Linked DNA regions of Homo sapiens: regions 1 and 2 are each linked to region 3. The links are contacts of gene promoters, found by promoter capture Hi-C in blood cells and fetal thymus (Javierre and others, 2016). All regions are on one chromosome and are shown on one strand. Each heading gives the region's core, a stretch centred on a gene start or on the middle of the fragment in contact. The rest is flanking DNA. Distances are from core to core; before and after follow the strand shown.

Region 1 (4,509 bases), core at 295-2,794, 1.6 Mb before region 3:
AATTTTAAGGTTTTACCTAGGCCATAAATGTACAAATGGTAAATGTAGACTAGAGTGATTTGCATAGCTTCACACACAGCAGACCCCACCTTAAAGAAGTCCACTAGATCCTCCAGGGTTTTATAGTGTAGGGAGGAGGGCCCTTGTCCACCCACTGTCATTATGTATGTTTTGTGTGAAGGATGCAGTACATCCTTCTGAGAAATGCACCATTAGATTATTTCATTGTTTGTGTACAAAGTGTACTTACTACCCAAACCTAGATACAAGAGCCTACTGCACACCCAGGCCATATGGTATGGCCTGTTGTTCCTAGGCTACAACCCTATACAGCATGTTACTGTGCTGAATACTGTAGGCAGTTTTAATACTGTGGCAAATATTTGTGTATCTAAACATAGAAAAGTTATAGTAAGAATATTCTAATCTTATGGGACCACCTTCATATATGCAGTCCGTCGTTGACCAAAATGTCATTATGCAGTGTATGACTGCATTTTGTATTTCGACAGTGAATCATGAATAGGACTAGAACGTGTGGGGATGAGCGGTAGCATGTAAAGTAACAAAGTTACAGCCTTTCTGGTCTCAGTGTCCTTATTTGTAAAATAATGAGATTGAGTTAAATGATGTTGGATGGCCTTCCAGCTCTAAGAATTTTATGGAAATAGTCATGTATAGCATGGGCATGTAGTAGGCTATATCCTCTAGGCTTGTGTAGGCACCTGAGGACACTCTGTGTTGTTCACATAACAGTGAAAGCACCAGACGATGCAGTTCTCAGAACATACCCCATCATTAAGCGACACGTGACTACTACAGTTAAGCTTCTTCTAAGGATACAATCTCATACCTTCAAACTTACTTAGGGTGAAGTCTGGTTTAAATTTTGTAGACTATTTAGAAAATAAGGAATATTTTGCAAAACTCACAATTCTTATATTTTGAAACAACACAATAAATGAATAAGTTAGAATGCCATTTAAGTAGCACTTTATATAAAGTCTGCTAAGGTGGGTTTAATGAGGTTTAGATTTCTGAATAGGCCTGGAATCATATTTTTGCTATTAATTTTCTTGAAAAGTTTTTTTAAAAGGAAAATTGAACTTCATCCCAATTTTGGATTTTCACAAATTCACAGTTAGTGAGAATTATGGTAAATAACTTGAAATGGAACAGAGAAACTTCGGAGGTACAGACTTCTCACCTTATGCCATACTAGATGCTGAAGTTGAACTTGAAGCCTATGCAGGCCACAAGGTGGCACCCTTAGGCCATATAAATAAAGTGCTGTTGCAACTAGAAAAAAACAGTTTTAAAGAATCAAGTAACTTTATTATGTAATGATAGACTATAAACTGGAAACCTCCTGAGGAGGAAGTCCCTTGCTAAGAATTTTAAACATGGTAAAATTACATAGTAAAGATTTTGGAAAATACTAAGATATTAGAATGTGAAATAGAATATCCAAAATAACCAGCATTCCTTTTGTGAACAATTAATTTTGATTTGTCTTAAGCCAATACCTTTTCTAAAAGTTGAATTGTAACTAAACTTTAATAATGCAAACAAATAATAGTTAAGCAATATAAATATTGCCAGAAATATATCAGAAATCGTTGTTGGTGTTTTTTGATTTCCTGATGGAGAAAGAAAAATTTAGGTGTTTTCTTGTTATCCCAATCAGTAGGAAGTACTTGAGAATGATGAGTCTAAGAATTTAGTCACCTGTGAAGTAGAAGACTTTTCCAAAAATATTTTATTGTTATTTTCCCATACTTTAAAAACTTATTTTTATGAGATGATTAAAAACAGTTAATTTGGCTTATGTGTGCTAGAATATTTTCTGTGAAGTAAAAGACATTTCCAGGTATTGTTTCTACAGTTTAAGAAGACGTTCACTTTGAATGAAATGATTGTAAAGAGTTATATGGAATGTGTATGCTAGACTAATGTTCTCCCTTATGTTTGATGAAGACATTTGCTAAGCTAATTCATTAAACAAAAAATCTTATGAAACAAACTTAGTGACTTTTTTTTTTTTACTCATGAAATGAGTATAGTGATAGTATGCATGTACCTTGTAGGGTTTCTATGAGGATTAAATGAGTTATTATAGGAAAAACACTTAGAACTGTGCCTGCAGTATAACTTAATAAATGTAGAATACTGTGTATCTCAAATGTTGCCAAGCAATTATTTGCATAGTAATACCAGACATAACAAACAGGAAATTCTTTTTTCTCTTTTCATTAAGCTTAATTCCAGAAGAACATCTACTAAGTAATATCTGATTAACAGAGTTTTAATTATTATATGAACTTAACTCAGTGAACTGGCCTTTTTTGTTTTTTGTACAGACAGGGTCTTGCATTGTTGCCCAGGCTAGTCTCGAACTCCGGGGCTCAAGCAATCCTCCCACCTTGGCCTCCCAAAGTGCTGGGATTATAGGTATGAGCCACTGCACCTGGCTAGTGGCCTGTCTTTAAGTATTATTGTGTAATTCACATACTTCAAATTAACCTCATTTTTATGCATTAATAGTTTTAATTATGAAGTTACTAATAGCTTTGTATTGAAGACATCAAAAAGTTAAGAATTTTAGACACAGCCACATTAGACTGAAATGTTGGAAATACCACAAAATGTGTGTTTTCTACAAAGTTGGATATAAAATAAAAATGTATGTCTGTGGTAGAGCTACATCTGCCTAAAAATTGCTCCAAAAATTTGCTAAAAATTTGAACTTCTGTTATTATTGAGCCTTGGAAATAAAATTCAGAAGATTCTGCTTATAAACTCCTTCTTTCCAATGTTCTTCATAGTACTGGGATATCCTAAAAGGATAGTGTTCTTAGTTCCTCCTTTTATTTACTTCCCACAGAAAGAGAGCAACTCTTTTCCTTTTTTAAAGAATCCAAATAAATATTCACATATTTTATCTTTATTTAGGACAGATCACTAAAAGGTTAAAAATTGGGCCCTAGCCATATGATCAGTGAGAAATTACTTCCTAGGCCCTTCTAATACAATTTTCCAAAAAATAGAGAAATAAGGAACTTAAGTCCATCCTAGTTTAGGATGAACCATAAACCAGAATCTTAGAAGTTTTGCAGTGAGCAAAGAAAGCATTGCATCAAGATTGACGTCACAGTAAAACTATTCACCGGTCAGAGACTGGTTCCACAGCCATACATTAGACAGCTTTCATCTGCATCACAAAATTCTTTTTACATTTTGGTTAGCCAAAAACATCATTGAATCTATGTGATAGGAAAAATACAGGACAAATTCTTTTTTAATGTGCTAAGGAATTCAGTAAAATTATGGTACATACATAGAATACAGTCATCCCTTAGTATCCAGTTTCTTTTAACAGCATCTGACAAGAAAATTGTCTCTCTGTGGTACTCTCCTAAGAGCAGTGTGCCTTTCAGGGGAGTCAGACTATCACATATCTCTCCCCGCTACTTTTCCCACCTCTCCAAGCAGGCTTCATTATGTTTACCTAGGTTTCACATCCATTCACAGGGGCACAGACTCAGTCCTCAGTGAATCTTGAAAGATTACTGGTTCATTATTCACACTTTTTATTAGTGCCTGTAATTCTGTTTGAAGAGGGATGGGTTTCTCTTCCCTTAGTATCCTCTTCAAACCCCTGTTTGAAGAGGGATGGTTTCAGGACCTCATGCAGATACCAGAATTCACAGATGCTCAAGTCCCTGGTACAGAATGATATGGTATTTGCATATAACCTATGCACATCTTTCCATATACTTTAAATAATCTCTAGGTTACTTATAATACCTAATACAATGTAAATGCTATGGAAGTAGTTGTTACACTGTGTTGTTTAGGGAATAATGACAAGAAAGAAAGTCTGTACATACGTGTTCAGTATAGATGCAATTTTTTTCCCCAAATATTTTTGATTCATGGTTGGTTGAATCATTAATTTGATTCATGGTTGATTGTGTGCAGCTTTTAGTTTCTTTTTTTTCATATTTATTTCCTAAAAATTTTTACAATGCACTGCAGAACTAGTCATAAGAAAAAATATTACTTTAAAATCTTGTGACAATGAACTTAATCGAGTGTACATTCAGGAAAGAATTATTGGATTTCCCTATGTCTAGACTTCAAGAAACTTAATGTGCCAGGCATTGCAGTCAGCCAGTATATATAGACAAATCAGACCCATTTCTTGGCTTCTAGAAACATATTCTGGCAGGAATTTTAGGACAGTTGTGAACAAGCAACAAAGTTTTACATGAACTGTTTTCTCCTGGTTATCTTGACAACTTACAGCAGCTGCAGGGCATATTGGAAATATATAAGCTAAATATGAAGCCCCACCCTGCCACTTAAAGCAGTATGGCCCTAGACTCAATGTCTGTGGGCCTTGGGAATTAAGATCACTCTATTAGAGAAAGAGTTGCTGTTTAAATAGCTGCTGAAGATAAGCAGACTGAAGAAATATATTGTTAATGTTTTGGGAAGGATTTTAAA
Region 2 (3,965 bases), core at 168-2,667, 1.6 Mb before region 3:
CTGATGTGCCAGTCACCGTGGTGGTGCTAAGGATTCAGTGGTAGAGACACTGCCACAGAAGGTGATAGCTTTCTGCCATCAGGATTCACAGGCCAAACATACCGTCTCCTCTGTCTAGAATACTTCCCTTGTTCATTACATAATTAATTCCTCATGCTTTGCATCTTAGATTAAATATCACTTATTCAAAGACATTGTTGCCCTTCTATCTAAATTAGCTCCCATATTGTTTGCCCTCAAGGAATCCTTTCTCTTTCGCTTCATGACACTTATCTCGGTTGTAATTACAGGTATTCCTCCGCCATTGGAACTCTCACGATCAAAACTCAGGACCAGATAGATTTTAGTAATGAGGAAGAAGAGGCAGACTTACCTGAAGAGTGTAAAGTTTAAGCTTCAGGGCTCTTGTGGTAGGCTGGATAACAGATCCTCAAAGATGTCCACATCCTAATCCTAATCCCCAGAATCTATGAATATGTTGCTTTGCATGGTAAAAAGAACTTTGCAAATGTGATTAAGTGAAAGATCTTGAGATAGGGAGATTATTCTGGATTATCCAAGTGTGCCCAATATAATCACAAGGGTCCTTATAAGGAGACAGGAGAGTCACAGAGGAAATGCAAGGACAGAAGCAGAAGTCAGAGGGGTGTAAAAATGCTCTACACTGCTAGCTTTGAGGATGGAAAAAGGAGCCATGAGCCAGGGACGTAGGTGGCCTCTAGGAGCTGGAGAAGGCATGGCAACCAACTCCCCTGAGAATCTCCAGAAGGAAAGCACTTCCCGCACTTTGATTTTAGCTCAGCGAAACTGATTTTGGACTTCTCACCTCTTGAACTGTAAAATAATCCTTGTTTTAAAGTATTAAATTTAGGGTAATTTGTTACAATGACAATAGGAAACCAATATATAGCCCTCCCTTGTTCAGGCCCCTTCCAAGGCCCTGGGAAGCAGTGCTGATATGGTTATATGTTTTTGTAAAGCTTGCAAAATTAAAATACTTTACCTACAATTGATTAAGATTTCTCTCTTTCCACTGAGACTTCCGGAGTATTCTTCTACTGGCTAACATTGGAGTGACTACAGGCATTTTTGGGATCCAGCTAAACAGAAATGCAGCTGGGGGTACTTTGGTTTGCATTTAATGGGAGACGTTCATGTGGTTCGTGGTCACTTCCATGCACTATTAACTTATTGCTGGAGAGTAGGAATGGCTTCTGCAAATGCTCCTGTATTAGTCCATTCTCACACTGCTATGAAGAAACACCTAAGACTGAGTAATTTATAAGAAAAGACGTGTGATTGACTCACAGTTGAATCACAATTCTGCATGGCTGGGGCAGCCTTAGGAAACTTACAATCATGGCAGAAGGCACTTCTTGACAGGGTGGTAGGAGACAGAATGAGTGCTGAGCAAAAGGAGAAGCCCCTTATAAAACCATCAGATCTCATGAGAACTCACGCGCTCTCATGAGAACAGCATAGGGGAAACTGCCCCCATGATTCAATTATCTTCACCTGGTCCTGCCCTTGACATATGGGTATTATTATAATTCAAGATGAGATTTTGGGCAGGGACACAGCCAAACCATATCAGCTCCTAACAGCCACTGTGTCAAAGTGCCCAGGTGTGGTAACATGAAGGAGCCATAGAATATGTGCAGCATGCAGTTCACTTTAATCTCATCAGAGAAAAAAGCTGTCTTCACCATCCCTACATTTTTTCATATCAATCAAAAGCAGTAATTCATGAAGAGGAAGAGATAAATTTGAATAGAAGTAATGGAGAGGCTCTCAGATTGTTGGATGAGTCAACTAATGAAGAGTAAATCTTATTAATACATTGGGAAAAGCTTTAATTTCCTTGCTAATTTGTCATAGTTTATAGGCATCAGTGAAGATATTATAAACTCAATACACAACCAGAAGGAGGACATCAATAACAAACTGATTAATAAATGTCATCAATTTAACAAGTAATATTGCTGATTAGTCATAGCACAATAAAATGTGAAATGCCCTAAGATCTTATAACTTTTTTTTTTTTGAGATGGAGTCTTGTTCTGTCACCCAGGCTGGAGTGCAGTGGTGAGATCTCGGCTCATTGTGACCTCCGCCTTTTGGGGTTCAAGGATTCTTGTGCCTCAGCCTCCTGAGTAGCTGGGATTACAGGTGTGCAACACCGTGCCTGGCTAATTTTTGTATTTTTGTAGAGCCAAGGTTTCACCATGTTGGTCCGGCTGGTCTCGAACTCCTGACCTCAAGTGATCTGTCCACCCCAGCATCCCAAAGTGCTGGGATTACAGGTGTGAGCCACCGTGCATGGCCAGATCTTATAATTCTTACATGAAAGAAATGTAATAGTGATTTCCTCTAATATGACAATAGTCCTAAACCTTTACATGACACTTTCAAGAACAAATTATTAGATGGTGTAGGTGGTCCTTGAATGAATGAACCATGAGATACCCTAGAGCAGGGGTGTCCAATCTTTTGGCTTCCCTGGGCCACATTGGAAGAAGAATTGTCTTGGGCCACACATAAAATACACTAACACCAGCAATTGTTGATGAGCTAAAAAAAAATTGCAAAAAAAAAAAAACTCATAATGTTTTAAGAGAGTTTATTAATTTGTGTTGGGCTGCATTCTAAACTGTCTTGGCTGCATGCAGCCTGCAGGTGTGGGCCAGGGGTTGGACAAGTTTGCCATAGAGCGTGGCTTGGTTGGATGAGGGTGCTAGAATTCAGAGGACGGTCACTGTGCAGTGAGAGTTGTCTTGGCTGTAGGACTGGAGTTGGTAAAATGAAAAAAAGAAAAAACTAGTTTTGCATGAAAGAATGTTTCCAGCATATGAATGTCCCACCACACTTTTAGTTAGTCTTGGCTGTACATGTTGCAATAAGTCAAGGAACCCTACAAAGTAGGATGGAAGGATTCAAACTGCGAATCGCTTGAACCCGGAAGGCGGAGTTGGAGTTTGCAGTGAGCCGAGGTTGAGCAACTGCACTCCAGCCTGGGCGACAGAGTGAGACTCCGTCTAAAAAAAAAAAAAAAAAAAAAGATTCAAACTGCTTTTGAAAAAAGTAAAAATGCAGGGTTATATTTTAGAAATAGTGCAGCCAATCATTAGTGGCTATTCCTAATATGTCAATTTCGGGTCTATAGAAGACCTACCTAGAGGCCAGCAACTATTAATTGATGCTTATAGCACCTAATGAAACTGCCCTTGCCTTTGAAGCCCCCATTTAGCTAAGGGGATGGGATGTGAATTTAGAATAGGACGTGAAAAGTGCAAAATGCTCCCGGACTCAGATCGGATAAACCTCTTCTAGGCTGTCTTTCTCTTCTGAAGCCACAGTTTTGATGCTTTCCCTAATTCAGAGCAGGCTTTCCCGGAGTCTCTGACTCAGAGCAGCCCGAGCCACCGTGAGGACCGCCCACCTGCAGGGGGCGCGCCGGGGGCTGCAGCGCGAGACCGCTCTGGCCCAGCGGGGACTCCGACTACCCCTGTCTGGCCCCTCCCCTCCGCCCGTCACCGCCTCCTTGAAGCTGCCGCTGTCGCTGCTGCTCGTTCGAGTCGCAGGTACTTGGCCCGGGGCCTGTGGGCAGCGCCTGGGCTAGAGCCACTTGATATCTCCTGCACCGTCCCTGTAGCACTGGAGGTCCAGTAGGCCTGGCCGGGGCCCTGAGGGGCGAGGGTGCCCGGGCTTCCCACACCTTCCGCGGCGACTGGAGGGAGCCGGGCCGAGGAAGCGACCGCGGGTCCGTGATGGCTTCTTCGCGGTCTGTGTGTTCACGAGGGCCGGGCAGAGGCCTGCGAGGGTTCTCGTTTGCGCTTGCGGGTTAGGGCTGTGGTCCGGGGAACCCCTGGGCAGCGCGGGCAGCCCTGGCTCGCGGTTAATCGGGGGGTGGAGCGCGGAAGCCACGCCGCAGGTCCAGCTGCTCGGCCGGGGCGAGACGGTGCTTT
Region 3 (4,361 bases), core at 1,055-3,554:
TGGTGTTGGCTAAAGTACTGTTGTGACCTGTGATTTCTATACCAAAGGCACAGCGAACTCTGCCATAAAGGTTACACTGCCACAAAGTTGAGTGCCATCTTCTTTCCCTTTTCTCTGAATGGTTTATAATACAGAAATTAACGACTAATATAATTCAGGTTCATGTTAGTAAAAAAAAAAAGTGCTATTTCATAGTACCTGTTTGTTTTAATTTGTAGGGCAGATAGTTTCTTCATAGAGGAAGAGCAAACCATTGGTCCTTTTGAAACCCTTTTACAAACAGAACAACCTTAAATATCCACCAATGGCTCTTGCCACAAATAATTAGGAAGGTTAAATTTCCACACTCCCATTGAGTTGCTGGAAATGTATGTCAAAAGAAGTATTTTAAGTGAATGCAGAGATCCTAAAGTACTTTCGTTTTGTCTAGAGCTGAGCCTTGTAGTTCCCACACTCCCTTTCAGGAAATAACAGCGATCATCATCTGCTGTCATTTCTCCACCGTCCCGTTTCAGACCACTGGTTACTTTTAATCTTGCAAGGAAAGAAACTTAAACCAATGAAAAGTCATAAATATGTTGGTGGAGCTGAGGCTACTTTTCTTTCATCAGTCTTCTTCACAGGAATTTCCAGGCATGTGGAGAAATTTTGTAAAATTTACTTGACTGGCTGTCACCAAGGAAGATGTGTACACACTTATTTCAGTTCAGTGAAGCTTTCAAAACATTGGAGAAAAAAATTAAGAAGTAACTTGATAAGGAGTTTCGCTCTTTGGTAATGGTAATATTACACTGAATTATCTAAAAATAATATACAGTCAGGGTTCATCTGCTAAAACCTGTGCACTGGTATATGAGATAAATGACTGATGGTCGGATAGGTAGGCTCACTGAATTTCAGCCCAAACCACAGCAGAATTTTATATAAATTAGAGAGCTATAGACTAAGTAGATCAAAGAAGATCATTAAAAAGAAAAAAAATTGTTAAAGGACAGATTGTTAGGGCCAGACTGTATCAGGTGAATAGAGAAACGGCTGCGAAGTTCCTGCCCCTTCAGAGCGCCTCTGCCTTCCCAAGGAGTTAATTAAATTAAGATGCCTTCCGCATAATCTAGGTTCTGTTTCTCTGTGCTCCCCTTGCTCCCCCTGCGTGAGTAATTTTCTTGTTCTGCCCAGGACTGCAGTTTGTTTAGCAGAGAAAGTGGCTGTCTGCGCCCTTTCGCTTCGGGAAACGCCAGCCCCCTTTTGTTCTCGGCTAACAGGTAGGAAGACAGATCCGGGGCTCCCTCCACAAACACCTTTTCCTCGCTCCTTCTTCGTACAACTGCAACTCCTTTCTCACTTGCCGTTTCTCAGGAATCCGAGCGTTTAAGCCCCCGGGGAGTTTGCTTTTGGGCCCCCTCAGTCAGGACTAGAAGGTGGGAGGAGAATTTTAAAGCCAGCACGAGGTTGACAAATTACCGAGGACTGAACTATTTCCCTCTTGAAATGTGCCTTCAGCGTCGCTGGCTGGGCAGGCACCGGGTGTCCGGGCCCGTCCACGCTGCGCTGCCGCGGCTGCCCCGGGACAAGTCGACCCAGGCTTGCTAGGGCAGGAGCAGAAACACCATGGGATTGTGGGGTTTGATCTCAGTGTACGTAGACCAGCTTTTATAAGAAGTCTTGCTGACCGCTTAGATTAAATATCCCAAAACAAAATTAAGAAACAGTATGTAGAAATGTGTGTGGTTGGGTGTTAGCTGGGAGTCGCGTGCCAGGGACCCAAGGAAGTGAGAAATACAGTGCCCTGGGATTGCATCCCCATGATCTATTTTCACATCTGAATTTGGGGCACACCAGACCGAGAATCTGAACGCCTCTTACACCCCCAAACCCTTCCTTCCAAAGGGCAGCTACAGCCCCTTCCCAGAGCGAACACTCACCTCCCGCAGAAAGGTCAACCTGGGCAGCCGCGCTCAGACCCGGTCCAGGCAGCGAGGCGCACAGCTTGGAAAGGTCATTGAGTCCACGCCTGGCAAACTTTTTTTTCCGCGCGGAGTCGCAGGAGTCGCGGACATGATCTGGAGGACCGCGAGCAGCTAAAGCGAGAGCAGATCCACGTCTTCGTCAGAGTCTGTGGACGCGGACTGTGTAAAGACCCGGGGTGCTTGGGGCCGGCGTTCAGCGCTCGCCCAGAACCTCGCTCTTCGGCGAACCTCTCGCTGTCGACTCCCGGTGAGGTCGGAGCCCACAGCCTTGCAGGGCCATCACCCTCCAGCAGCAAGCACGCCGAGCTCCGTCCCCGCCCGCGTCCCTCCCCAGGCTGCCCCAGGCCGGGAGTCTTGGGCTTTAGTAGCGGCCCCGCCTCCCCTTCGGGCGGGCGTCCCGCCGCCGCGCGGGGCCCTCAGCGCCCTGGCTCCGCCTCCGCGCCCGGCGTCTGCTAATGGTCCACTCTGTTTACTTCTGTTTGGATAGCAACTGAGTCTTAAAGGCACAGGTTTGCTCGAGGTTTCCCTGTTATAGAGACGCAGCCGTAGGTGACTCAGTTCAAAACTCACACACAAACACAATACCCACCCCCTTTCTTCTCGTTGCCACTTTTCCTTATACCATTAGAAACTCAACAACTGCTTCTCTGCCTCTCAAAGACTCCACAGAGAATCCCAAAGGGCATTTAGTATTTTTATTTGGTTCGCTCGCCGGCTTAATTTGCACATCTTAACACATTCAATACAACTACCTTCACCGTAAAGTAAAATAATTCAGGTCTAGACTGCATTCTCCAGCATAAATCACTCTTTCCCCAATTTTAAACAGTTTTGTACATACTTTTGGTCAATTATGACTACATGTGTAGTCTGCTTTCGCCTGCTGTTTTCTAAACGAAGTTTGTTTACAGAGGTGGCAATTGACTAATTTAGTAATTATTGCAAAGACGCGTGGAATGCCCCAGGAGAAATTTCTTCCAATATTTAAGCTTTAATCGGCAAATGTTCATTTCATACGCAGTAAACCAACTTGGTTAAAACAGTGGGCATCTGCAACCCATTGGCAAAGAATAAAGAATCCATCTGGAATTGGTGAAGAACAATCATTTTTAAAATTTAGGAAAATGCGATTCTAGTTTTTCAAAACATTTACATCTTCATTCCCAGCAAAAATTGAGTTCAATGTTCAGTCTCCAGGAAAGTTAATAGAATTCAAAGTGCAGTGATACATTTTTCAGGTCCTTCTAAAGGTTTGGTCTTGTGTGAGTGTAACTGCAAAAAGCACTTCAACCTCTCTGGAATAGGGGTGACCGAGTGACAGGAAGGGAATGATACACACCCATTTTAAGCAGCTTCTTTTCAGATGTGATTTGCGTGATCAACACTAAGCAAAAACGCCCTTCGTCCCAGACGAGTTGCCAGAGGGGATCTGTGTTACTCCACGGCAAGCCCGCACTTTGAGGACGTAGATCTTCAACCAAGAGGCTGTACAATTCAAAAGTGTTCCGTCGAAAGATGGTTTTGAATGAGACGCCCCAAAGGACAATTCAAAAAATCTCAATCGTGCGGGGAAGTAGATAAATACAAGCAGAGGCTAAAAACTGTCAAAAGGTTAAGCAGTAATTGGGGAGTCAAGCAGAAGCTCCCAGATATTATTTTATTAAGATAAAATTCTTTCTATTTTATTTATGCCGAGGTGGAGAGAATTTTTCGTTCCTTTGGTAAAACATAACAGGGGTCGCAGATTTTTTTTCTGTCTTTCCAATTTTAAGTTCGCAAAGATTAAAAAGTGAGCTTGAAACGGAGATTCGAGTGTTTAATATCCTGCAGTACTTAACTGCTTCAAAGTAGATTTGACACACAGAATGGAAGCAGCAGAATGCCTAAGCATTCAGATTTTTTTTTTTTTTAACGTTTTGCCTGGTGGGTCCCATAGGGGTGCTTTCATTTTAGAGCTCAGTCCTGAGCCTCAGCTGCGGGATGCCTGCGGTCCTCTCTCTCCAACTGCCTCATTCCTCCTGCAGCTTTTCTCAGTTTGGGAGATTTGGAGGGAGCTTTCTCTTCCTTCAGACTCCCCAAGCCTCCCACTCACGGGGTGGTGACCTGAAGAGCGTTCCTACGCTTCGCACTTCCTTTTCATCAAAGGGGAGGCAACTCCCCAGCAGCGGGCTTCACACCTTTCCCGCCCTTAAGTATGTGTACGTTGGGTGCAGAACCGTTTGGTTTTCCCGAGGGGTAGGCAGAATTTCCAACCCCACGAGCTGCTCCCTCTTTCCGCAAACCTCCTAACCCCGGGGTTTTTCCATAAATGTGTTTACTTCGTCCACGCCAGCCTGCGAAGTTCCAAAATGGAGTCTGGGCCACGCCGGCGTTCTGGGCACGACTACGGTCTCT

The links. The method cuts DNA at HindIII sites, captures the fragments that hold promoters and counts their contacts. A CHiCAGO score of 5 or more calls a contact.
Region 1: a contact is called between a fragment that was not itself captured here and the fragment with the promoter of OSR2 in region 3, in 1 of 17 cell types (fetal thymus). The highest score is 6.0, in fetal thymus.
Region 2: a contact is called between a fragment that was not itself captured here and the fragment with the promoter of OSR2 in region 3, in 1 of 17 cell types (fetal thymus). The highest score is 7.4, in fetal thymus.

Annotation. Positions count from the first base shown.
Region 1 is chr8:100,537,731-100,542,239 of GRCh38, reverse strand. The region is part of intron 1 of ANKRD46 (ankyrin repeat domain 46); the gene reads left to right. Among named protein-coding and RNA genes, the nearest start is that of ANKRD46, 20 kb to the left of the region's middle. RefSeq lists an enhancer at 289-338. The HindIII fragment of the contact is 1,430 bases long and covers 830-2,259 here.
Region 2 is chr8:100,559,327-100,563,291 of GRCh38, reverse strand. ANKRD46 (ankyrin repeat domain 46) reads left to right here and starts at 3,533. Exons shown (of 5, transcript NM_001270377.2): 1 at 3,533-3,581. RefSeq lists enhancers at 3,230-3,369, 3,337-3,631 and a silencer at 3,370-3,539. The HindIII fragment of the contact is 870 bases long and covers 983-1,852 here.
Region 3 is chr8:98,942,385-98,946,745 of GRCh38, reverse strand. It overlaps OSR2 (odd-skipped related transciption factor 2), which reads right to left and starts at 2,304. Exons shown (of 4, transcript NM_001142462.3): 1 at 1,923-2,304. It overlaps LOC112268016 (collagen alpha-1(I) chain-like), which reads left to right and starts at 4,136. Exons shown (of 2, transcript XM_047422523.1): 1 at 4,136-4,361. It also overlaps a transcript of STK3 not described here. RefSeq lists enhancers at 1,039-1,539, 1,540-2,040 and a silencer at 2,186-2,545. The HindIII fragment of the contact is 2,241 bases long and covers 718-2,958 here.